Linked DNA regions of Homo sapiens: region 1 is linked to region 2. Evidence: promoter capture Hi-C in 16 types of primary human blood cells and fetal thymus (Javierre and others, 2016). All regions are on one chromosome and are shown on one strand. The core of a region is centred on a gene start or on the middle of the fragment in contact, and the rest is flanking DNA. Distances in the headings are between cores, read along the strand shown.

Region 1 (7,122 bases), core at 1,810-4,309, 230 kb before region 2:
CAATCCTTGTCACAAGTCATGATCCAGAAGCTCGGCCAATTGAAGAAAGGGTCTCCATGAAGTGGAGCTCATGACCTGCCTGCATCAGCATCACTGGGGGCATTTTTTAAAAATGCAGATACCAGCACTGCTGGGGCTGGGGTTGGGAGTCTGCAAACTCCCCTGCTGGTTAAAATACAAACTGAGGTTTCAGAACTATTGTGCCAAAGAATCATAACTGACTCCATTGGGAAGTAATGACCCATGATTTGATTTCTCATTTAATTTTTCAAAATGCAAACAATGCAAAAAGTTAAAAATTGAAAAATAGGTTAAGGCCCATAGTCTCATCAATACAAGACACAACTGTAGTTGGATTAACATTTTGGCATATTGCTAACATATTTTAATAATCACTACTGTGAGAGTTTTTTAAAACATAAATTTACATGGTGTTCCCCCCCCAAAAAAATTCACTCACATAAAGGAATTTTATCCGTCCCCAGAATTACCTAATGAATTTCAAGCTTCTCTGTTAGCAGAATCAAATGTAGGTGACTCGATAAACAAGTGTCTGTCTTTGACTTAACACAGCTTTATAAAAATGCCTTCTTCCTTCCTTCCTGAAGGTCTGCTCAGCACCCTCAAACTTTTTACCACCTGAAAATCTTTTCTATCAATTTTACCACAATGGGGGGAGGTGAATTTCCACAAAAGATCTTTTCACTTTAAAAAATTGAAATGGCCACATAATTTCTCCTCCTAACTGTGCCGAAGTACCTAAAAGTCACAGGTTGGCATTGCTAGGTCAGCCTTTTGCAGGGGCCACACGTGCCCAAGGCCCTTACACACCCAGCCAGGTGTTACAGAGCAGCCTCTCACCATCAGGCTCTGTGCTAGTGCTGGGAAAAGATTCTGCTGGCATTTAAAAGTATTGCACAAGGAGGCCAGATGCAGCGGCTCATGCCTGTATCCAACCCAGAACTTTGGGAGGCTGAAGTGGGAGGATTGCTTGAGTCCAGGCATTCAAGACCAGCCTGGGCAACATGATGAAATCCCACCTCTACATAAAATTGTTTAAAAAATTAGCCAGGCATGGCAGCACGTGCCTGTGGTCCTAGCTACTCGGGAGGTTGAGGTGGGAGGATCACTTGAGCCCAGGAGTTCAAGGCTGCAGTGAGCCATGATCACGCCTCTGCACTCCAGTCTGGGTGACAAGAGACAGACAGATGAATGAAAGAAAGAAAGAAAGAAGGAAAGAAAGAAAGAAAGAGAGAGAAAGAAAGAAAAAGAAAAGAAGGAAAGGAAAGAAAGAAAGAAGAAAGAAAGAAAGAAAGAAAGAAAGAAAGAAAGAAAGAAAGAAAGAAAGAAAGAAAGAAAGAGAAGGAAAAGGGAAGGGAAGGAAGGAAAGGAAAGGAAGGGATATATTGCACAAAGCATTAGCTGTGAATGACTGTAGCACACACTCTACAATCCAGCAATGGAAAAGCTTTGTTTTCTGAACGTGTTTTCTATCTTCATGTGTTTGGAAAAACACCTATTTCTGAAATACTACCCAACCCTGTTGGGAGTGTGCCTGGTATTTTTTTCTAGTGTTCCCAGTTTCTCATCCTTTGCTCTTTCAACTCCCAACTAACAAGTGTGGAAGGACTGATGGAATCAGAGCACGCCCATTTTGTAACCACTAATGGGACTTTTAAATGTCGGTGAGGAACTTGTCAATGGAGGAATAGGGATGCCTGAGCCTCGACCTATCTTAGCATCACTAAAATGGTGCAGGTAAACACTGTGAGCCTCCTGGTAGGATGCAACATGGAGCACAGATCACCTCCTCGACAGCATCTCTACCAAGAGGGGCTGAGCTTGAATCTAATGGAGCCTACAGAGGTAACTCTATGTGTAAGAAGGACGAGAGGGAAGAGCAAGTGATGAACCATCACAAGGACGCAAAATCCAAAATGGAGAACATTCTATAGGACTGGCCTTTACAAATCAAAGGCTTGAAACTAACCAAAGTCAGAGCAGAAGGGACTCCTGTTTAAAGGAAACCTAAGACGTTGAGTTATATACGAACCTTGTTTGAATCCTGAGTAGGACAAACTAAGCAAGAAGCTATTTTTAAGTCAATTGTTAAAATGTGATTATGAATTGGGTTCAATGGCTGGATGGTTAGATGATACCATGGAAATATTGCTAGTTTTGTTAGATGTGATGAAGTAACATTGGGGTTATGTGAGCAAATGTCTCCATGCTTTAGAAACAAATGCAAAATATGGGGTGGTGAAATGACTTGCTTCACTACATTGATTTCATGTTGTTTCCAAGTTTCATTCATTTAGAGGAAATAAAACGATATGATGTAAAATACTGCAACCCAGAAAACAATTTTAAAGATAATTATTGAATGTGGGTGATGAGTGTAGAAGAGTTCTATTATTATTAATATTATTATTTTATTTATTTTTTTGAGACAGTCTCACTCTGTCAACTAGGCTGGAGTGCAGTGGCAGGATCTTGGCTCACTGCAACCTCCACCTCCTGGTTTCAAGCGATTCTCCCACCTCAACCTCCCAAGTAGCTGGGATTACAGGCATGCGCCTGGCTAATTTTTATAGGCACGTGCCTGGCTAATTTTTGTATTTGTGGTAGAGACGGGGTTTCACCATGTTGGCCAGGTTGGTCTCAAACCCCTGACCTCAAATGATCTCCCACCTCAACCTCGCAAGTGCTGGGATTACAGGCATGAACCACTGTGCCTGGCCAATATTCTTGACTTTAGTATATTTTGGAAGGTTTCATAAAAAATAGTTTTCATCTAAAAAAATCTGTTGTAGCCATCCTTCTCAGGTCTGGCTAGCGTTTTCTCCCAGGTGGAAGTAATTTCTTTTTGCTGAGCTCACAAAACACTTTACCCAGGCCTCTCTTTGGTACAGAATCATGCCCACTCTGAACTGATGGAATCGGGTGCATGCCTTTCCTCCTTATTTTCCTGTGAGAGTGGGCTCCATCCTTGTTTCATGCCTGTACCTTCCGCTATGCCTGACATAGTTCATGGTTGACAGCAACTGAATGTCTGTGGCTGAATGAATAGAAGAACCTCGTTGCTAGGAACTGTTATCGGGGCTGTTTCAGGTTCACATGTGGAGAGGTCAGTATTAGGGCAAAGGTGAGGAAGCCTCATTTCAGTGGTGTTGTCCTGAGTTGAGACATGAAACATGAATTTTAACTCAAATTCTTTGGCCCCTTCTTTAATTCAGAGCCATAGGCCAATCACCGTACTTTCTTCATTTACAAGATGAGTATAGCATTGGTGGTTTGTACTGGGAGAATTTGGAATTCTGGATGTTGGTGAGATGCTCCATATGGGATCTCATGCCGGCAGCTAGCATGGCATTGTGATCGCGACACCCAGGGTGAGTCCCAGCTTTGCCAGTAGGTACCCCTGTTCTACCTGGATGCTACCCACCTATGTCTGGCAGGTCAAATCAGAAAGGCAAAGCCTCCAGCACATAACATGGCAAGGCTTCCAGATACAAAATAGCAAAACTATTTTGCCACAGGGGAGATGATAGGGAATCTGAACTGTCCCCTCCAAGGGACACAGAGCCTCAGGCAGGGCCACAGGTGCACCTGTTTTGTGCAGAGGGCTCAAGCAGCCCTGGAGACAGTAACACCCTCCAGCTGCCAGCTCTGCCACCTTCAGCATGACCTTACCAAGCCACCTCGCCTCGCCTTCTTCAGTGGTAAAATGAGGATAACTGTAACCAATTTATCAAGGCTAACATGTATTAGAAAAAAAGAAAAACTCGTTATCCGTCAAGTGCTTTTCAACCATGTCATGCTAGCCAAGTGCAAATAAGGGGTTTCTAGTTTCTCTATTTTTAGTTGATGCCTCCACCACACCCCTTGTTTGACTGAAGCTGTGTTTCAGGCTTTGAGCATCTCCCAAAGCAAACATTGACTGCCCTGCTCTGGTGAAAGTCTGCATTAGAGGGCCTAGCTGGTTTCAAATAAACAAACAACTCCCCTTTCCCACTTCCCCTCCTCTTGCTGACTCCCCCGACTAGACACACATGCACACGGTGCACATGCATGCTCTCTCACACATGCATATACACGTGCACACATAGACACACACACACATATATACACACACATATTCAAGCACATACACACATGTGTATTCACACGCATGCTCTCGCTCTCACACACACACAAGTGCACATAAGTGTGTATGCTTCCTCTCCCACTCTCTCACAAACATACACAGACTCACACCCTTCCCACAATGCAGCAAAGCCATCTGGAGCCCCAGCCAGTGTGTGATGCGTTTTGCCTCTGTCTGGACTTCTGCACTTCCTGGCTTCACCCAACCTGAAACTGCTGGGTGCAGCCCGAGCACCAGTGACAGCCCTGGTTGTCCCATGGCCTCTTGAGGAACCCAGGTCTCCAGTCAAAGCCACTGGAGTAGGGGGACCCATAGAGACCTGAGGTACTCATGAGACCCATGGAAAATCATCTGCACACACACTGCTAAGGAGTCAAAGGACAGAAGTGTAAGTAGTGGGTCATTTAATCTTAGGAATTTTACTTTCTGTCCGGTTCTTTGTTCAATAAATTGAACAACCAATGTTCAATTATGTTGTCTCAGTGGACACAGGTGTTTGCCAGGAAGCTTAAAGTCAATGGCAATATGGCTGGCCAGACTAAGAAAGACAAGAGGGCTGGTCACCTGGGCAGATGCGGAAGTATGAGTCCAAGTCTGGGGAATATACTAGGAGCTGCTGACCACTGGCCCTTCGTTGAGTCAGGGAGGCTGAGAGAGGCCACGAAAGGCCTGAGGTTCAGGCAGCCCTGGCTGGCCACTTAACGGTCATTGTCAAGAACTGCAGGCTGGCCCTGGCTCCAGGCCTTATGCTCCTCTGTTGCTGGGCAAATCACTCAAATCCTCCTTTTATTTTTCTGCTTGTATCAATAATATATGCTTAGTATTAAAGAATTTAAGAAATATATACAATTAAAAGAAAGAAAGTCAAAGTCACATGAAGTCTTATAATCCAAAATCCATTTAGAAAATACTTTGGTGGGACCTGCTTTGCATTAGCACACACACCGTTTTTTAAGTCCGCTGGTTTTTTTTTTGTTTTGTTTTGCCTTACACCACACCTCTGTTTTGTACTCTCCCTTCCTCTAACAATAACCACAGTAAACAACTTGGTGTTCATCCTCCCCAGCCTCTTTCTGTGTAATATGCAAACATATCTACACGCCTGAATAGAGGTTTCTTTTCATTTGGTGTTTGCAAATATGGGATTCCCTCATGCACCTCTTTGGGTCTTACTTTTCTCGTGTAACAACATGGTACCGAAATTCCTCTTGACCTCACTGGTGAAGATCCAGCACATTTTTTTTAGTAGTTGTATGAGAGATTTATAGAGTGTAGATTTATTCAACAAGTCTTCAATTGCTGGGCAGTTACATTGTTGTTTTCTGTTTGGGATTTTTTTTCGGGGGAGGGGATTGTTTTTCCAACTATTACTACAACAAACATTTTCATCTCTCACATGTGTCTATATAATGATGTTTTATTAACCTGAGATAGTCCAGAGTGGGACTGAAAATCAAAAGGTATGTGTGCTTTTTTATTTTAACAGAATTTAAAAGATTGCCCTTTAAAAGAATTTAAAAGATTGCTTCTTCCAATAATATTTCATGTTTTGTCTAATAAATATTTATTAAGCCCACACTCTGTGCCAGACATTGGTTTAGCAATTTGGATTCAGCAATGAATAAAACAAAGATTCCAGCTCTCACAGAAGATTAATCCTAGAAATGGAGCGTGAAGGAACAAATGAAACAATAATTATAACAAACATTTTACTATTTGGGTTTGTGTTGCACTAACTTCCTATTTCTTATCTTTACACATTTTTCTATTGAATGAATTATATGCTGCAATATACTTCCTGTCAAAAGTTTATGAGCTTTGTATATATTATGAATACACATTTATCTGATGCTTTGCAATCTCTTACCCAATCTATTGCTTATCTACGAACTTCATGAGTAGTTTCTTATACCATCTAATATTTTTAATGTTTATGAATTTGTACTTTTTTTGTTCTCTCTTCGCTTCTGGGTATTTTATCTTTGTTAGTAGTTGTCTCCAAACTCTGGGTTATATACACAGTTTCTTACATTTCTTTTAATTACATTTTTGTTTTTTATTTTTTTCAGTCATACACCTAGAATTTATTTTTTAATATCATGTGAGGTAGGGGTTCAATTGTATTTTCCTTAAGGTAAATAGTCATTTTCCTAATACCATTTATTAAAATAAACTATCCACTTTCTACTGAATTAAAATGCTATCTTTTTCACATACGCGATTCCTGTATTTACCAAAATCTGTTTGTATGTTTTTTATTCTGCTCTGATGATTGTTGTCTACTTTTATTATTCCAATTTCATGCGGTTTTGATTACAATCTTCTATTTCATAATTATAAAGCTAGGTTAAGACTTAATTTAGTCATGTAAAGCTTCAGATGATTTTATGCAATTACAAATTATAATTTTAATTAAAAGAACATTCCATTTATATTAGGAACAAGAAAAACATCACAATCAAAAAAGAGAACAGAGTATAATAATTACAAGACAATGCTACATAAAACTATGGCAACAGATTGGAAAATGTAGATGAAATTAAAGATCTATAAACCATATAAATCATCAAAATGGCACAAAGAGGAGAAAAAATGGGAATAGATCATTCCTATAGAAGAAATTGGAAATGTCTTTAAAGATTTACTATTTGAAAGGGCCCCAGACACAGATGGCTTCACAACTGAGTTCTATTTAGCCTGTGAGGAACAGATAACCCCACTGTTATGAAACCACTCAAGAAGATAGAAAAAAAAAAAAAAGAGAGCTCCTCAATATCTGTTACAAAGCCAGCGCACCTTAATGCTAATGCCTCATAGACAAATCTCCCTTGGGAATACAGATTCTCATTCTAAATAAAATATTAGCAAATAGGGCCGAGTGTGATGGCTGACACCTGCAATCCCAGTACTTTGGGAGGCTGAGATGGGCAGGTCACTTGAGCTCTGGAGTTTGAGACCAGCCTGCATGACATGGC
Region 2 (7,211 bases), core at 665-3,164:
GAAAACAAAACAAAACAAAAATGTGGCCCCTAGACCACAGCATCAGCGTCACCCAGCAGCTTGCTGGAAAGGCAACATCTTGGGCCCTGGTATAGACCTTAGAATCTGCATTTAAACAAGGTTCCCAGGGGATTCATAGGTACATTGAAGTTTGAGAAGCGTGGCTTTGTGATATTTCTATAATACCATTTAATAGATATCCCATTTAATGAATGAAGTCAGAGATACTGTGACTTGCTTGTATCCCCACAACTAATAATGAAGCAATATATGCAAAGAGCTCACAACAGTGTTTTGCACATAGTACGCGCTCAATAAACAATAACAATCAATGACAGAGCCAAGCTGTGAACCATGAGATTTTCAATTGCATAGCCCCTTAGCCTCAGAAGAACCCCTTTAGGCACCAGGCATTCATTCCACCAGGTAAGGCGAGGACTGTGGCTACGGCTTCCCTCCCGGCTCAGCCACTCTACAGAAAGAGAAACTAGGGGGCCCAGAAGCTACCATTGTGGTGAGCCTGATCCTATAGCAGGGGCATCCTGGGGGTGGGGGGGTCGTTATTCTCCAGAAAAGGCCGGACATAGAAAGAGGGGGACCAGAGGCTCTTCAAGGGATGCCTCCTGCAAACCCCATGCCCTCCAACCTCATCCCCTCTGCCTCCAGATGCCTTTCTAGATGAGGACCCTATACCCTAGGCCTCCCCAGGCCTCCCTCTCCTCACCTCCTGCCCTAGCCTGTTCAGTAGGTGACCACTGTGGGAAGGCCACTTGTAACCTCCCTCTCAATCAGTAGGACACAACCATGTCTCTGACGGTGGGCTGGGCTTGTTTCCCTGTGCTGACCAAGTCCTTCCCCAGGGACCCCTCAGCTAGGGTCCATGGTGACTTCACCCCAGCCTATTTCCTGAACACCTGCTGGGGAGTTCCCCAGACTTTCCTCCCAACTTCCTGGAAAGTGCTGGCTCCCCATCCTCCTTCGAGAACTAAAGACAAGAAAACATATGTATCTTTAAACAGCCTATTGTTTTATCTCTTTTATTCTATGAAATAAAAAATTTAATACACAAATACTTTAAGCAAAATTTGCTTATAGTAAAAATTCAAGTAATAAAATTCAAATAATAGAAAGCAAAAAAATCCCACCCGTTCAACATTTCACGAGTCTTGAACACCTGTTTCCTTTGCACCCGACTTCATTAGGCTCGGAGGCCAAGCAGAACCCACAGAAAGGCTTGCCATTGTGGGAACACCCAGGCTGTCCCATTCACACACCCATTGACTTTTCCCTATAACTGTCTCCTTGAGACAAGAAATGTTCCAAAAGGGCCGGGTGCGGTGGCTCACGCCTGTAATCCCACCACTTTGGGAGGCCGAGGAGGGCGGCTCACCTGAGATCAGGAGTTCAAGACCAGCCTGGCCAACATGGTGAAACCCGGTCTCTACTAAAAATACAAAAATTAGCCGGGCGCCAGTAATCCCAGCTACTCGGGAGGCTGAGGCAGGAGAATGGCTTAAGCCCAGGAGGCGGAGGTTGCAGTGAGCCGAGATCGCGCCACTGCACTCCAGCCTGGGTGACACAGCGAGACTATCTCCCCCCGCAAAAAAAAAAAGTTTCCAAGAGCGTCTCTCCAATGTTAGTCCCAGCCTGCACCCTTCTTCCATCCCTGCTTTCACTCGCGACCCTCTAATGCAGCCCTGCCTCCAGCGACCCCCGGGATGGAACCCCTCGCCCACCCACAAAAGAGCAGCCTCGACCTAGACCCACTTTCCAGGGAATGAGCCCTGCGCCTGCGCGCACCCCGCCACCCCCTCCAGGCCGGAGTCCACGCCCACTTGGGGGAGGAGCCCCGCAGCCTCCACCTACAGGGGCGTCCCCTAAGGGGACGGAGGCCGCATGGGCCGCCGAGCCGGGAAATCTCCGCCCCCAGCTGGAGCGGCTGTGCGGGCTGCGTAGCGGTGCTGGGTCGGGCCGACGTGCCACCCACCCGGAGCCGGTGAGTGCAGCCGCCCGCCCTCCGGTAGATCTGCGGCCTGGCGGAGAAGTCGGGAGGGGACAGGAAGGGAGGGCGGGCCCCGGGCCCTCCTCCGTCTCAGCCGCCTGCGGAGGTGCTGCCCACGCCTGGAGGCCCCCACTGACCCTCAGACCCGCGTCTGCGCCCCTCTCCCCGCACCCCGAGGCAGAGTTGGGAAAGCAGTGGTCTTAGACCCCCCACCTCGGGCACTCGGAAGAGAACGGCGGAGACAACCCCTCCTCTTCCCTGGCTGGCGCAGCGCCAGCCTCGAGCTCCTCGGTAGCCCCCGGGCAGGGAGGGCCGGAGGGTGGGCGCGGCATCTTCAGCGACTCTTCGAAGTCCCTTCCGCGTCTCATCTTTCAAGGCTGTTGCAGAGGCGGCTTGCTTCCCACCTGTCCATCTCCATAAAAATCCCTAAACGAAACATGCCCACGTGTCCGGAGATTTTCAGGACTTGGTGCATTTCAGATGAAGGCTTTTCCAGAAGCTTCCCCGTAGAAGAGGATCAGGCATCCAACTGGTTAAGGTCAGCAGCGTTTGGCACGTCTCCTTCCAGCCTGGCGGTTTTGTCAGGATTCCCTGGGGAGTGTCTGGAAAGCCTGATGAGGGGAAATAGTACATCTCAGCGAATCGGCACCAGCGAGTGTAAGATGCGCGTTATTGAATGTGCTGCTGCCGAATATGAGAATGCCGAGATTGTGAGCCGTCACCATTTCTTAGATTTTAAAAGTATTCTAAAATGTTTTTTAGAATCACTGAAATATAATAGCTACCCCCTGCCCGATATCTACTTAGTTCTTTTCGATTTTCATCATAACTTATAGAGAGGCTGGTGCAGGAACAGGTGGTTAGGCAGCTGCCCCGGGTGAGGCTGGGAGTCTCCTCTGCCCGAACAGCCCGGGTGTACACCACTCAGACTGCCTCATGTAGGCGGCTGTCAGTGGACTGGGATGATTTGGGGGCAGGGAGAGTAGAGGTGGCCCTGGGAGCCCTGCGTGGTGATTAGAACAGAACCACAGCTGTTTCTCGGGGATCAGAGATAACTGTCTGTAGCTATGCCGGGCTTACCTACGTGGCTGGGGGTCTCACTTATGATTCTGAGCTCTGTCTGCGTGTTGGTCGTTTCATGCACACCTCCCCCACGCTAGTGGTCGGCGGTCCTGGAGGGCGGCATCTGGTCCCTTCAAAAGTGGGAAATAAGTCGGCAGCAGTGGGTCAGAATGGCTGTTTTTTGAGAGCGGGAGCAGGGGGACAGAGAAAGTCAGGAGGTGTTAGAGGTTCACAGTCCAGGCAAAAAGTAACAAAGGCCAGCTCCTGGTGTGGCAGGTGCCGCTCAGGAATAAAGTGGATGGTGCCCATGATGTGCTGCCTAGCACACTGTTGGTGCTTAATAAGTGTTTGCTGCATGAAGAAAGGTAAGAGGGGCTGCCTTTCCTGCTACGTTTCCCACACCCTGCCACAGCTGCTCTTCTCTATGATCTGACCGCCTCCCAGCCACACTCCCTTTTTGGCCATGCTTGCTCTTAAAGTTAGTTGGCAGCAAAAATGGCGGCATGGAGGATGCTTGGCACCTGTTAAAGATGCTAGAGATAAATGAGCTAAGTCGGTGGCCTCTTTTGCCCATTTCTGCCCACAGGGATGCCAGAAGGGCCGTTGGTGAGGAAATTTCACCATTTGGTCTCCCCCTTTGTGGGTCAGCAGGTGGTCAAGACAGGGGGCAGCAGTAAGAAGCTACAGCCCGCCAGCCTGCAGTCTCTGTGGCTCCAGGACACCCAGGTGAGGTAATACTCCTCTGAAGGGTTGGCTCTGTCGCCCATCCTGCGCCTCCCCTAGGATCTATCCCCATATGTCTCAGGGTGTCACTTCCCTGAGTCCGGAACCACCAAGCTCGGACTCCATGCAGCTCCCTCTTTCAGTCTCACGTGTCTCAGCCAGAAGTAGATATCGCTGTGGACTGTAGAACTGTAAAGAACACGTGTGGATGAGCTGGAGACCCCGATTCAGAGGGTCTGGAGTGCTCCTATTCTCTCCGGCCGCAGCTGATGGGCACCTTTGGCTGGGAACTGTGTTCTATTCCCCTGAGCCAGTGGAGAATTAAGGACAGAGCAGAACCGGCTGGGCACGGTGGCTCGCACCTGTAATCCCAGCACTTTGGGAGGCCGAGGCGGGTGGATCACTAGGTCAGGAGTTCAAGACCAGCCTGGCTAACATGATGAAACCCCGTCTCTACTAAAAATGCAAAAATTGGCTGGGTGTGGTGGTGGGCGCCTGTAATCCCAGCTGCTCGGGAAGCTGAGGCAGGAGAATTGCTTGAACCCGGGAGGCCGAGATTGCAGTGAGATGAGATTGTGCTACTGCACTCCAGCCTGGGTGACAGAGTGAGACTCCGTCTCAAAAAAAAGAAAAGAAAAGAGCAGAACCTTCAGATCTAGGTTCAAACCAGCTCATCCTTCCAGGGGCTCACGGAGCTCCCTGTTTTCTCACCACTGCCTCCCTCTCTAGCCTTCTTATCCTGCCCCAAACCTGTCTTCTGATCGATGAAACTGCCTTTGGCTCTTCTTAGTGTTTCTGTCCGTGGTTTTCACTTGCTGCCCCCTGCTCAAGCACTTCTTCCTTTTTCTCCCAACTCTGCCCCTGTTCCCTCAATTTATAATGGTAATTCCTGGTCTTCCAGCTTCCACTTGGCCATTGCATCCTCAGAGAAGCCTGCCCTGTCTGCTTTAGGTGGGAAGGAGACTCCATCTCTGTGCTTCCAGGACATCATGTACTTCCTCCTGTTCTTCCCTTTTTACTGAGTTGTTCTGCTTGTTGAGGGGAGAGGACAGATGCAGAGGGCAGGGGCTGCTCCTCGCCAGTATTGTGCCCCCAGCACTTAGCTGAGTGCCGGCACGTAGGAAGCACGGGTGGTGCCTGTGGATGAGCTCACGCGCTCTGCTGCTGCTTAGCCGTGTGCTCTTAAGCATGTTCATCTCATAGCTCTTTCTTCTATTGTAGAATGGAGATAAGCCATTGACCTCTTAAAGTTGTTGTTTTAAGTAGAGTTTATGCCTGGCACATAACGGGTACTCCATAAGTACTAGTTCCCTTTCTTCCATCTTGCCCTCACCCCCCACCCCCGCAACACACACACACAGAGGTTTTAAAACCGTTGTTAGTTAGAACTGGAAGAGATCCTGTAGCCCTGTACCCATAGTTGATTCCTTTGGAGACTGAGGCTCGGAGAAGGGAGTACTTAGCCCAAGCTCAGGTGGCTGGCAAGGAACAGGTGAGAGCACGGGGTCCCATGGCCTCCAGGACTGTGGCCTCTTTGTACACACTGTCCTTCGAGGTTTGCAGGGGCAGAATTGTCTCTTGTCTCTGGATCCCCAGCACTTACCAGGGTGTCTGCCACAGAGCTGGCTGTAAGAGAATATTTCCCAAGTGGATGGGTGGGCAGATGGATGTGCGGTGAAGGAACCCGTAGACGGGACTGGGAGCTGCTTTCCCAGTAAACCAAGCAGAAAACCATGTTGCAGGGAACCTAAGGTTGCAGGGAACCTTCGGGGCTGCCTGGCAGTGCTTTGAAGTGAGCGCCCTTCCCTGCTTCTCCCTGTCGGCGGGTCCCTGACCCTAGGAACTTAGAACTGAATTGAGAACATACGGCTTGTATCGACACAGGCCACACTATTAAGCTATGCTAAATGGGGAGGGCAGAGCACATCATAAAGGCCCAGGTAATGACCCTGACAGGAAGAGGTCCCGGTGGCCTGGAGAAGATGTGCAGGAGGTAGGACTTGAGTTGGGCCTTGAAGGCTGGAGGATTTCAGTGGACTGAAGAGGGAGGAAAGGGCATTTCAGGCTTGAGAAGCAGTTACAGGCGGGCCGATGGAGGTGGAGTGAGCAGGGTGAGTTGATGAGGCAGGAGGGAGCTTGGCTGCACTCTGTGCCATCTGTTTGTCTGGCACATCCTTTTCTTGTCAGCTCTCCATTTTCTATATAGGAGTTGTGTTGGATTACTCATAACAGACTCAGAAAAATGGCTACTCTAGCTCATGGTTTTCTCCTCCTCCAGTAATGGAACAGTCCAGGGTGGTATAGGAGCAACATTGGAAACCAAGCTCCTTCTACTCTCCCCTTCCAAGACTGGGTAATTTATGAAGGAAAGAGGTTTAATGGACTCACAGTTCTGCATGGCTGGGGAGGCCTCGCAATTATGGCAGTAGGCGAAGGGGAAACAAAGGCACATCCTACATGGTGGAAGGCAAGAGAGCTTGTGCAGGGGAATTACCATTTATAAAACCGTCAGGCCAGGTGCAGTGGCTCATGCCTGTAATCCCAGCACTTTGGGAGGCAGAGGTGGGCAGGTCGCCTGAGGTCAGGAGTTTGAGACCAGCCTGGCCAACATGTTAAACCCCATCTCTACTAAAGATGCACAAATTAGCTGGGCATGGTGGTGGGCGCCTGTAATCCCAGCTACTTGGGAGGCTGAGGCAGGAGAATTGCTTGAACCCAGGAGACAGAGGTTGCAGTGAGCTGAGATCGCACCTGCGCTCCAGCCTCAGCAACAGAGTGAGACTCCATCTGAAAAACAACAACAACAAAAAACCCATCAGATCTCTTGAGACTTATTTACTATCACGAGAACAGCCCCCATGATTCAATTACCTCCCACTGGGTACCTCCCACCAGGTCCGTCCCATAACACATGGGAATCATGGGAGTTATATTATTCCACCCCCAGGCCCTTCCAAAGCACAAGTCCTCACATTTCAAAACCAATCATGCCTTCCCAACAGTCCCCAAAAGTCTTAATTCATTTCAGCATTAATTTAATAGGCCACAGTCCAAAGTCTCATCTGAGACAAGGCAGGTTGCTTCCACCTATGAGCCTGTAAAATCAAAAGCAAGTTAGTTACTTCCTAGATACAATGGGGGTACAGGCATTGGGTAAATACACCTGTTTCAAATGGGAGAAATTGGCCAAAACGAAGGGGCTACAGGCCCCATGCAAGTCTGAAATCCAGTGAGGCAGTCAAATCTTAAAGCTCCAAAATGATCTTTGACTCCATGTCTCTCATCCAGGGCACGCTGATGCAAGAGGTAGACTCCCACGGCCTTGGGCAGCTCTGCCTCTGTGGCTTTGGTAGGGTACAGTCCGTCATCCTGGCTGCTTTCACAGGCTGGCATTGAGTGTCTGTGTGTTTTCCAGGGCAGGGTG

What was found. The method cuts DNA at HindIII sites, captures the fragments that hold promoters and counts their contacts. A CHiCAGO score of 5 or more calls a contact.
Region 1: a contact is called between a fragment that was not itself captured here and the fragment with the promoter of NEIL2 in region 2, in 1 of 17 cell types (M2 macrophages). The highest score is 5.6, in M2 macrophages.

What each region holds. Positions count from the first base shown.
Region 1 is chr8:11,533,965-11,541,086 of GRCh38, forward strand. All of the region lies in intron 1 of BLK (BLK proto-oncogene, Src family tyrosine kinase), which reads left to right. Among named protein-coding and RNA genes, the nearest start is that of BLK-AS1, 21 kb to the right of the region's middle. RefSeq lists enhancers at 3,657-3,886, 5,047-5,126 and a silencer at 4,200-4,364. The HindIII fragment of the contact is 3,186 bases long and covers 1,467-4,652 here.
Region 2 is chr8:11,767,796-11,775,006 of GRCh38, forward strand. It overlaps NEIL2 (nei like DNA glycosylase 2), which reads left to right and starts at 1,915. Exons shown (of 5, transcript NM_145043.4): 1 at 1,915-2,540; 2 at 3,651-3,790. The coding sequence starts at 3,653. It overlaps LOC124901888 (a long non-coding RNA gene), which reads right to left and starts at 3,655. Exons shown (of 2, transcript XR_007060824.1): 1 at 3,083-3,655; 2 at 1,007-2,613. RefSeq lists silencers at 1,726-2,135, 2,176-2,305 and an enhancer at 2,065-2,565. The HindIII fragment of the contact is 12,492 bases long and covers 1-2,499 here.